3 separate regions of the Homo sapiens genome follow, and all the other regions are linked to region 3. The links are contacts of gene promoters, found by promoter capture Hi-C in blood cells and fetal thymus (Javierre and others, 2016). All regions are on one chromosome and are shown on one strand. Each heading gives the region's core, a stretch centred on a gene start or on the middle of the fragment in contact. The rest is flanking DNA. Distances are from core to core; before and after follow the strand shown.

Region 1 (3,674 bases), core at 615-3,114, 1.1 Mb after region 3:
ACATGGCTAGTCAACAGCAGAGCTGAGAATTTGACACCTGAATCTGGCCTCAGCAGATGCAAAGAACTTGCTGGAGAGGCCAGTGGTACTATCCTTCCCCATTACAGAGAAGACAATTAAGGCCCAAAAAGATTAATGATTTGCTCAGAGTCAACTCTTCCACGGTGCTGGCCAGCAGCTACACTCCCTCCTCTCCAAGCCTCACACCAGAGGACTCTCATACACACTTAGGCGTCACTCTTCTCCCTGGAAGTCACATCTAACCCCCAAACCTCACTTACAAGCCCCTCCTAGGTGATCCACAGCACTGTGTCCTTCCCTGACAGGCCTCACTGTCCTTCCAGCCATGAAGATCCCCATCTGGACTTGCAGATGCTCTCTGAAGTCAGGACAGCACCTTCCTGCTCACTGTGTTAACCTCACCGCTCAGCCATACTGAATGAATGAATGAATGAATGAACGAATGATTGAGTGAATGAATGTCTTGTTGCCCCCATAGCAGGAGCAGGTGGGATCACAAGCCCTCATCTCTGGATGTTAAGGCCAGGCCAGGGCTCTCTCCACTTCAAGACAGCTGAGTGAGCTTCTCTTTCCGTGATCTCCAAACTTTTTTGATCACATATCACTATCATTTTTAAAAATTTTTCTGAGCACACAACTTTGAGTACATAAACCCTATTCTATTGATGTGTTATACTCATTACAAAACATGTACACACAACAAATTTTAAAAGAATGATAAGGAAAGCAATTATAAGGGGAATAGCTCCTCCTTTCTCCTGGGTTATCCTTCCCTCCCTGGGGCCTTTTTCCTTAGCACCCAGGGTGATGCGAGCCCTGCTCTTGGCATCTCAGGCATGCAATGAACCCCAGCAGGAGGAGCAAGTACACCCGTCATTCACAAGTTTCAGTTCTGGCACCAGACAGTCTGGCCTCAACCTCTAGGACCAGCTCACATCTGTGTGACGTGTGGTCATGGGACTACTTTGAGCCTCAGTTTCCTCCTCTGCCCACATTACCACTCTTCCAGAGTCAGGTGGAAAAGACACAACGCCTGGTGGGGGCTGTGCTGTCATTAGCACCTAGACGCACACTGCACAGTTCTCATGCACCTACATAACAGCCAAAATGGAGACCACAACAGACCCCTCAGGAGCAGAAGGAAGGATCAGGGACCCCTCAGGACTAATGTAGCCTGCTCAGGCGCACAGTTAAATGAGAAACGGCAAACTGTGAAAGAGGATTCAGAATATTCTACTTTTTATGAAGAAAAAGAGCGGAATAAGAAACTACTCATTAAAGCAAAAAGAAACATAGAAGGAAAAAACACAGACTAATGAGACTGGTTCCCTACAGGGCAGGGTGGGAGCTGGGTAGAGAGGAAAAAGGGATTGGAGTGGAAAGGAGGGGGAGCACCTCTCTGAATAGAACTTTTTGTACAGACCTGCCTTTTGGAAATGTCCGTGGTTCACACAAAAGGGAGGGAAGAGAAAATCCCTAAGATTGGGGAAATCTCTCAAATAGAATACAAAGAGAAACAAAGGAACCAAATTGTATTTCAAATGAATAACATAACCACACTGAAAGGGGGCAGCAGGGAACAAACCCAAGAAACACCTGAAATGTGGACTATATGCTCTCAGTCTGAAGTCGAAAAGAGCTCTAATACTGAATTCTGATCACTAGACCTCTTTTTGCAGAAGTTAGCAATTTTGAAACTACTTTCTGACATTCTAGAATTGAGCAAATACATAAATACATTGTGAAAACCAGGAAGCCAGGTTTCACTGTTGGAGGGGGGAGTGACAAATATGGAAATGGAAAAGGGCAGAATGAACCCCACAGCACTAGATCAGGATTAGAGACATCAGTGTAAACTCACAGGTTCTCCTGGAAATAACTGAATAGAGGCATGTGTGCATGTATAGGCAGACATCTATCGCCAAGATCTGTCTTCTGAGAAGCAGTGACCCCCAGTAGCAATGAAGCAATGAGCACATCTAATACCCAAATCCCAAATCTTGGTTTCTCTCTCTGGTTTTTTTTTCTTTTCTTTTTTTTTTGTAGAAACGGCTTTTCACTATGTTGCCCAGGCTGGTCTCAAACTCCCGGCCTCACGTGACCCCCCTGCCTCAGCCTCCCAAAACACTGGGATTACAGGCATGAGCCACTATGCCTGGCCAAAATCTTGGTTTCTAAATGCCTTTCTCCACTAAAAGGAACCAGAGCTCCTTGGAGATGGCTGATTCTAGGACTGGGGCAGGAAAAGAATAAGTGAGCCCAGAATATCTTGCTGTGCCAAAAAGTCAAGTCATGTTCAAAGAATATGGAGACAGCAGCTAGCGTGAAGAGATTTCTCTTATCAAATGATAAAAATGTATTATTATAACTTACTGTTAAACTAAGAAACTAGGAGTCCATGAGTCCACATGGATACAAAATAAACAGACTAATGGGGGGGGAATGAAAACTCTTCTTTCTAGTTAGGATGAGAAATCCCCACGTGACAAGCGTGATCATAGGGACTGACTCAGGTAAGAATCATGGATGGATGCTAAAACGAGTTGATGAGAGGTTGAGGAATAACAGGATACTTATGTTGTCTCAAAGTGCCTCTCCATATTATATTTTTTAATTGCAAAAGGCAAAATATTAACTACACTGAAGAAACCTGGCATCTTAGCCAAGTGATCAAAGTTAACACTGCCAGCAACAGGACTAACCAACATGTGCCTCCTGGTAGGAAGCACTGAGAAACACAGCATCACCCGGAACACTCCTGCCAAAGGGCATCACCTGAACCTAATCACAAGGAAAGACTAGACAGACCTACATTGAAGGTCTATAAAATAACTGGCTTGTACTCTAAATGTGAGTGTTGTGAAACTGAGGAACTGTTTCAAACTAACGGAGACTAAAGAGATAGAATGATGAAGGGAACACATGACCATGAATTCTCTTTTGCTATAAAGGATATTTTTGGGACAGTTGACAAAATATCAATAAGGTATGTACAGTAGATAATACAGTCATGTGCTGCATAACAACATTTCAGTCAATGACGATCCACATGCACGGCAGTGGTCCCATAAGATTAGACTGTATTTTTACTGTACCTCTTCTAAGTTCAGATATGTGTAGATACACAAATGCCCCATTGTGTTCCAATTGCCTACAGTATTCAGCACAGCCACATGCTGTACAGCTGTGTAGCCTAGGAGCAATGGGTTATACCATATAGCCTGGGTGTGTAGTAGGCTGTACCATCTAGGTTCATGTAGGTACACTATATGGTGTTCCCACCACAACACTGTCTAACAACGCATTTCTCAGAACATATCTCCATTGTTAAGCAACACATGACTAGTGCTTCAATGTTATTTTCCTGATGTTGATGATTACACTGTGACTATATAAGAGAATTTCTTGTTTTAGGAAACACACACTGAAATATTTGGGAGTAAAGGACTATCAGTCTTACTCTTACATGGTACCAAAAAATATGTATATATGCATGCTTATATATGTGGAATGGGTTATAAAATGATGTTAACATTTGGAGAAACTGGGTGAAGGGTGTCTGGGGATTCTTGATACTGTTCTTGCAACTCTTCCGTAAGCCTGAAATTACATCAACATTTTTTAAAAGGGGAAGAAAGGTGAGAAGATGGATT
Region 2 (3,331 bases), core at 34-2,533, 1.1 Mb after region 3:
AGGACCACTCCAGCTGCCATGCAGGGAGGAGAATGAAGGGCAAGAGAGATGAAGGAAGACAATCAGGAGGCTTCTGCAAGAATCCAGGGAGAGAGGAAATGGCTTGGAACAGTGGGAGGCAGTAGAGAAGTGGCCTGCCTTGGAGGGTAGAACCAACAGGACTTCCCTGGACTGGAGGTAGGATATGAGGGCAAGGGAAAAGCCCAGGACACATTCGCAGTTCCTGGCCCAAGCACTGAAAGGGGTGGAGTTGCAGGGATGGGTCAGCCTGCAGAAGGGGTAAGTTTGAGGGAAGGAGGACCTGGAGCTCAGTTTTGAATGACAGACAGCAGACAGTATAAAGACTCATTCCCGTACCAGTGTGATGTTCAAAAGAGAGGCCCAGGGTAGAGGCTGAGCTGTGGATGCCATTGTGGAAATTGTGCCGCAGCCTTGAGCTGGATGAGCTCTCCTAGGGAGCAAGTGCAGACAGGACAGAGAGGAGTCCCACATCTCAGCCCCAGGCCTCCAAGTTTCACAGGCTGGGAACCAGGGGAGGAGAGAGAGAAACCAGAAAGGAGTCTAAGAAGAGGCCAGTGAAGTGTGGGAAAAAAACAGAAGAGGAAAGTCCTGGAAGCGTAGAGAAGAGAGTGTTTTGACAAAGAGGCTGGTCACCATGTCAAATGCTGATGGGTGGGTCCGCTGAGAATGAGAACAGACACACCTGGGGATTTGACAATCTCAGTGACAGGTGTATAGGTATCTGTTACCTTCTATAATTTTGAGTATGTTTAAAACATTTCATATTTAAAATAAAAAGTTAAATTAACCAAGACGGAGAGGAGGAGGAGCAGAAGAAAAAAGGAAGGGAGAGAAGGAGTGATGGAGGAATTGGGGAGAGGAGAGAAAAAAGAAACACAGGATGGGAAACGGAAAGGGAGGAAAAGAGAAGGGAAAAAGGAAGGAAGGAGCAGGGGGAGAGGAAGGGGTGAAAGAAGAAGAGAAGGGAAAAAGGAAGGAGCAAGGGGGAGAGGAAGGGGGAGAGAAGAGAAGGGGAGAAGGGAAAAAGGAAGGAGCAAGGGGGAGAGGAAGGGGGAGAGAAGAGAAGGGGAGAAGGGAAAAAGGAAGGAGCGGGGGAGAGGAAGCGGGGAGAGGGAAAGAGAAGGGAAAAAGGAAGGGGGGTGCAGAGAGGAAGGGGGAAGAAGAGAAGAGAAGGGAGGGGAAGAGAGGATGGAGAGGAGGAGAGGACGGAGGGAGGAGGAAGAACCAGCTTGGGCAACATAGTGGTCTCATGCAAGAAAGAAGAAATTACAAAAAACTTGAACTCTATGAAGTCCAAGGCCAAAAGCAGCAAACTGGAATGTTTGAATTCTTGTCCAGGGGAACTCCCAAATCAGCCACGGAAACATGTAAGGAGATCCATCAATCTGTAAATCGTCTGACAAGCTCCCCCTGAAGTGAAAAACGCACACTTGGCTCTCCTAGTAGATGCACAGACAACGACAGCATCTGAATCAATGCAGACCAGTCAGCTACCTCTCAAAGCTATCCAGGGTGAAGGAGGGAAGAATCTTTGCCAATTGGTCTCCTTAATTGAATTTAATGTTCACTGTCAGGTTTTAAAGATTAATTCCCCAACATTGCAGCAGACTGAAGTGCGTGCTTTTTTCAATTAAGTAATTAGAGATCCCAAACTGCCTTCATAGAATTAAGGAGTTAAATCTTCTGTCAAATGTTCCAAGATGATTTCATGTATTAACTAGAGACATTCTTTGTGTCCGACAAAAGTAACAGATTTGAAAAGAATATGACAAGTAAAATATGGTGCAGTCACTTGTCGGTGCCATATTTACCACAGTTTCTGTGTCCTCGTTACCAAGACATGGCCCCACCAGGAGTTCCTCACAGTCTCCAAAGATTGAACAAGTATTGATCTAGCCACAGGTCATGTTCTTTCTGCCTGCCTGCCTTTCGTTTTTGGTTACAAAAAATACAGTCTTCTTGTAAATTATTCAAACTATACAGAAGTGCAAAAACAAAATCCCAAAGGAAACAGCTATAGGATTGTTGTTTCTCTGATTTCATTGGAAATATGTGTGCTCTGCCCAAAAAAAAAAACAAACAAAACAAACAAAAAAAAACAGAAAAATACAACGAAAATAAGAGTCATCCATAACCCCATCACCTGGCTGTCAAACTTCTGGGTAAGCCTTCGCCTCCCTCGTGGCCCTATCCTACTCACTCTTATCTCGGAGACCCTCCTAGTCAGGCCTGGCTCCTGGCCTCATCCCACCTCTTGACAGTCCCTGTTGCCCCAGAAAATAATTTTAGAGACCATTCTCAAACTCACACAGTTCAGCACAAGCCTGTGCAACCAGTGCCTAACCCTTTACCAAACGGATGGGATCAGCCCATTTGCCAAATCTTTGAGAAGCCCTTCATGATGTTTGTGTTCTACAGCTGGAGTTGCACTGATTCTAAAATATCTGGGGAAACACCTTAATAATATTGAGTCTCCCAATCCATGAACAGGATGTCTCTCTCCATTTATTTAGGTCTTCTTTAATTTCCCTAAGGAACAGTTTGTGGTTTTTTAAATGAAAAGATCTTGAATGTCTTTTGTCAAATTTATCTCTAATTATTTCATAGTTTGATAATATAAATGGTATTTTTAACTTTTATTTTCAGATTGTTGATTTCTCGTATGTAGAAATACAATTAATTTTGGATATTGACCTTGGATTCTGCAACCTTACTAAACTCACTTTTTAGTACTAGAAGCTTTTTAAAATAGACAGAGTGGAATTTTCTTTTCTTTTCTTTTCTTTCCAAGTCAGGGTCTCGCTCTGTTACCCAGGCTGGAGTGAAGTGGTGCGATCACAGTTCACTGTAAAACTTTGAACTCCTGGGCTCAAGCAATCCTCCCACCTCAGCCTTCCGAGGAGCTGGGACTGCAGGCACACATCACCCTTCTAAATGTTTTTATTTTTATTTTTGTAGAGCTGGGGTCTCACTATGTTGCCCAAGCTGGTCTCAAACTCCTGGCCTCAAATGATCCTCCAGCTACAGCTTCCCAAAGGCTGGATTACAGCATGAGCCACTGTGCGCAGCCTGGAATTGCATATAGATGATCATGTTATCTGCACATAAAGGCAGTTTTACTTCCTCCTTTCCAATCTGGATCCTTTTCTTGTCTTGTCTTATCACACTGGCAATCTCCAGTAGAATGCTAAATAACTCTCCGTGACACCCTTGCCTATTCCTGATCTCACTGGGAAGGTGGTCAGTCTTACACAGTTAAGAACGACATTAGAGCTAATGTTTTTTTTTGGTGCCTCTTATCAGTTTAAAG
Region 3 (3,821 bases), core at 331-2,830:
TGCAGCTGCCGAAATTGAGAACCAGCGGGCGGTTCCCTTGCGCGTAGTCGAGGATGTGCTGGCTCTGGAAGCCGTCGGGCAGAACCACCTCGGAGTTGGGCGCCGGACCGCCCTCGTGCGCCTGCTTGAAGAAATCCAACTTCTGGCCATGCCACACCGCCTTGAGCGACGCCAGGGTGCACAGGCGGTTGTCGTCGGACACGCAGATGGGCGGGTCATCGGGAGGCACCTCCTCGCCTTCACTGTTGAGCTCCACTTCGGGCTCGGGCTGCCCCCGGCGGCGGCGGCCCAGGAAATGCTTGCGGATACACAAGAAATCGAGAAGCCAGAGCATGAAGGCCGTGCCGAGGAAGCGCGGGAAGAGCACGAGGCACGAGGCGGTCTGGGCGCAGAGCCTCAAGGAGTGAAGCAGCAGGGAGCGGAGCATGGTGGCTGCAGGCCCCGAAGCCCCCTGGGACCCCTCGCCCTCTCCGACCACCAACCGCGACGTGGCCTGGCGAGGCATCTGGGCTTCAGCAGTGCAGGGAGTTCAATTTATAGCGGAGGCTTCAATTGGCGGGAGACTCCACCTCCGGCCCGGCCCGCCCCCTTGCAACTTGAGCCCGGAGGGATCACCCAGCAGCGCGGCCAATGCCCTAGAAATCTTGGGCTGAGGGCGGGCGCAGGCGGGCGGAGGGCGGAGCGGCCGGGCCTGGGGCCGGTGGGGGCGGGCCCGGGCCCCGCAGCCAGCTCTCGGGGGCGGGGGACTCCGGCAGCCGCTGCCGCTGGGGACCGGGAGCCCGACCAGGGACCTGGGCGTCCGCTGGGGAGGTCCTCCAGCTGGCGCGAGCGCTGCGCGCCGCCCTGGTCCCCGCCGCCTGGCTCCGGCCCGCGCCCCCCTCGCCGCGCACCTGAGCCGAGCTCCCCGGCGGCCGCCGAGCCGCGCCGGAGCTCCGGTTCGCTTCCCGCGCGCCGCCGCCAACGCCGCCCACGCCGCTGCCGCTCGTGCGGGGCCGCTGCCCAGGTGCCGCGGGAGGCCGGGTCCGCGGCCGCCGCTTCGGTGGCCCCGGCTCCCGCCCCACCGAGGACGCGGGCCAGCGAGGAGGCAACTTTGCGTTCCCGCCGCCTTCCTGGCTCGCCCGCGGGCGCCGCTCGCCTGCCGGAGCCCGCCCGCCCGCCTCCCGCGCGCGCTCACACTCGCGCCTCGCACACGGCCGCCCCCCGCACCGCCCCGCCACGCACACCGCGCTCCGCGCCCCCCGCCGCTGCCCGAGGCTGCCGCGCGCCGCCCCAGCCCGCGCCGCCCTGGCCGCGCCCGCCCCGTCCCATCTCGTTCCAGCGGGGCGCCGCGGTTCCTGGGTCAGCGGCCGCCGGGGCCGGGCTGAGAGGTGCGGAGGGCAGAGCCCGCGGGCGGGTTACCGCCGGGCGCCGGAGACCGGAGAGCTGGGGAAAGCGGCGCCGGCCCTGCGCCCCCAGCCGACCCGGGCGCGGGGCGCCACGGGCGTGGGGCGCGGGGCAGCGGGCGCGGGGCGGCGCCGGCCCCGGGCGGCTCTCCCACTAGGGGTAGCTGTTGCCTGAACGCCGGAGCGCTCCCCTCTCGCCGCTTGCCTCGCCCAGCGCAGCCCCGGCCGCTGGGCGCACCCGTCCCGTTCGTCCCCGGACGTTGCTCTCTACCCCGGGAACGTCGAGACTGGAGCGCCCGAACTGAGCCACCTTCGCGGACCCCGAGAGCGGCGGCGCGACTCACCGCGGAGGCGCCCGGACGCGTCAAGTGCGTACTTTCAACCGTAAATGGGTGCTGAGCGTTTAGGGGTGCGGGGCAACTCCCTAACTCGTGGGGCCCTGGCCGGCCCTGCCGCGGCGTCCGAGACCTTCTGATCCCTCGCTGCGCGCGGCGCGGGGTTGGCGACTTGGGCTCAGGGGCGGCGGGGCGGGGAGGTGCCTTGACCTAGGGACCCAGAGGCCGGGAGCAAGTCTCCTTTCGCCTTGGACTGCAGTGTCCCCCAGGGCAAGGCCTGAACCAGGTCGCGAGGGTCTGTCTCCCGTCTGGGGAGCTGAACTGCCCGAGACACTGTCGCAGTCGCGGGGACTTGTCTGGAGCGGCGGGGTCTGAGCCCAAGTCGGAAGCCGCCGCCGCCGCCAGCGTCCCGTGCGCCTGCCGCCCCGGGACCAGCCGCGAAACTTCTTCTCGGGACGGAGACAGCGCTCGCCGCCCGGGCCGAGGTAGGAGCTGGCTGGGCTCGGTAGAGCGCGGGCGAATCGCTTTCGGCAGCGAAGGAACGTGTCGGGAGAAGCCAACTGCAGGACCAGGGCCCCAGCGGGCGCGCAGAGACGCCTGCCTTGGGCGGAGGTCCCCCCCTCCGGTTTTCGTGGCTCTGGTAGGGCCCTCTGTCCCGTGAGCTCCTCACTGGACCTGAGGCTACAGGCTTCAGCAGGTCAAGCGCCCGAGTGTGCCTGGAGGATTGGCGGCGGGGTGGCATGAGAAGGTGGCCCCTCTTCTCCATCTCCCAGTCAGGCGATTTCTCTGCTGTCTGGGGCAGGGGCGCACACCCCAGGAACTTACTACGTAGAGGGAAGCCAGCCTGGTCTCTCCCCCTTGCGTCAGTGCTCCTAAGCTGCCCCTCACCACTCTGGGTAGGGGTCTTTCAGGTGGGCTAGGGAATTCTCCTTGGAAGTCCCCTTGTTTGCTCCCCTCCATCAGGGCACCTCTGAGTTAGCCAATCATCCTCTTTTCTGGCCTCTTTTTTGCGGGGAGGAGAGTAGAGAGAGAAGCCTCCTACTCGGCAGGTCTCTGAGAGGAGGTTTGGGGGGGCTTCTGAGGTTGCTCCTCCTGGGCAGAGTCAAGGGGTGTTGAGGGTTCCAACTTTTACTGGACAATCTCTCAAGCTCTGATTCCCTGATTTCTGGGAGGTGTCAGTGTAGGGCTTGTGTCCTGCCCCACCCACACAGCATTTGGTGCAGGCACATGGGATGGTTCCCCAAGCCCTTTTCCCACAGTTAGTTTCAGAAAATGCATAAGCCACCTAAGGCTGGGAGAGCCTTTCTGTGCTGGCTGAGATCTGGTGGCATGTGCATGCATATGTGTGCAAGTGTGTGTGTGTGTGTGCAAGTGTGTGTGCGCATGTGCATGTGTGTGGAAAGTATGGTCTGGGTGGCTGTAAGACTGGCCCCTCTTGTCCCCTCTGCAGGCCCAGCCCAATAGGAAGCACCTGATCCACACTCTTTCTAGCCCCAGGGATGCTCAGGAAAGCAGCCTTTCTTTAGGGCTGTCATCTGTTCTGGGGATCTGTTGCTGTTTCTTGGGCCCACAGAATACACTCCACACCTCGGGACTCCATAATATTGGACAAGGCTGGAAGGCCCATTTGGCTCCTGCAGCCTCTTATGCAGGTGAGGACAGACCCAAGGTCCAGGCAATGCTGGCCTTTGGAACACAGAACCTGGCTCACTGACTCCCACTCCAGTTGTCTTTTCCCTCTGCCTCTGGAGCAACCCTCTCTCCTCCAGAGCAACCCCTGTCCCTCCTTCCTACCTCTCTCTAGGGCTGCACCCCCAGCTCACCTTAGACCTGGCCCTTCCTACCTGTTGCCCCTACTGTCTTGTCCCATCCCAGTGGTCAGGAGGGAGAGTACTGGCCAAAGGCCCAGCTCCACCTGTGACTTAGGGGAGTGCCAGGCATCACCCAGAGGTCCCGGCCCTCGGGGGCCTGGCAGGCTCTGCTGTGGGGGAAGCAGAGTTAGAACTGGGGCTGCTTCTCCTGTCCCCCAGCCTGGCTGGGCCTCCCCCACCTCCCTTTCTGCCTGCCCTCTTACAACTCCAGCAGGGGGCGGGCAGGGGAAAGA

The links. Contacts are between HindIII fragments. The CHiCAGO score rates a contact against its expected background, and 5 or more counts as called.
Region 1: a fragment that was not itself captured here is called in contact with the fragment with the promoter of DIO3OS in region 3 in 1 of 17 cell types (endothelial precursors); the score reaches 5.9 in endothelial precursors.
Region 2: a fragment that was not itself captured here is called in contact with the fragment with the promoter of DIO3OS in region 3 in 1 of 17 cell types (total B cells); the score reaches 6.5 in total B cells.

The regions. Positions count from the first base shown.
Region 1 is chr14:100,432,452-100,436,125 of GRCh38, reverse strand. The region is part of intron 2 of WDR25 (WD repeat domain 25); the gene reads right to left. Among named protein-coding and RNA genes, the nearest start is that of WDR25, 58 kb to the right of the region's middle. The HindIII fragment of the contact is 3,804 bases long and covers 1-3,674 here.
Region 2 is chr14:100,460,694-100,464,024 of GRCh38, reverse strand. The region is part of intron 2 of WDR25 (WD repeat domain 25); the gene reads right to left. Among named protein-coding and RNA genes, the nearest start is that of WDR25, 86 kb to the right of the region's middle. The HindIII fragment of the contact is 2,959 bases long and covers 1-2,762 here.
Region 3 is chr14:101,558,181-101,562,001 of GRCh38, reverse strand. DIO3OS (DIO3 opposite strand upstream RNA) reads left to right here and starts at 1,580. Exons shown (of 2, transcript NR_152588.1): 1 at 1,580-1,750. DIO3 (iodothyronine deiodinase 3) reads right to left here and starts at 507. Exons shown (of 1, transcript NM_001362.4): 1 at 1-507. The coding sequence starts at 505. It overlaps MIR1247 (microRNA 1247), which reads left to right and starts at 1,580; the gene lies at 1,580-1,715. The HindIII fragment of the contact is 17,616 bases long and covers 1-3,821 here.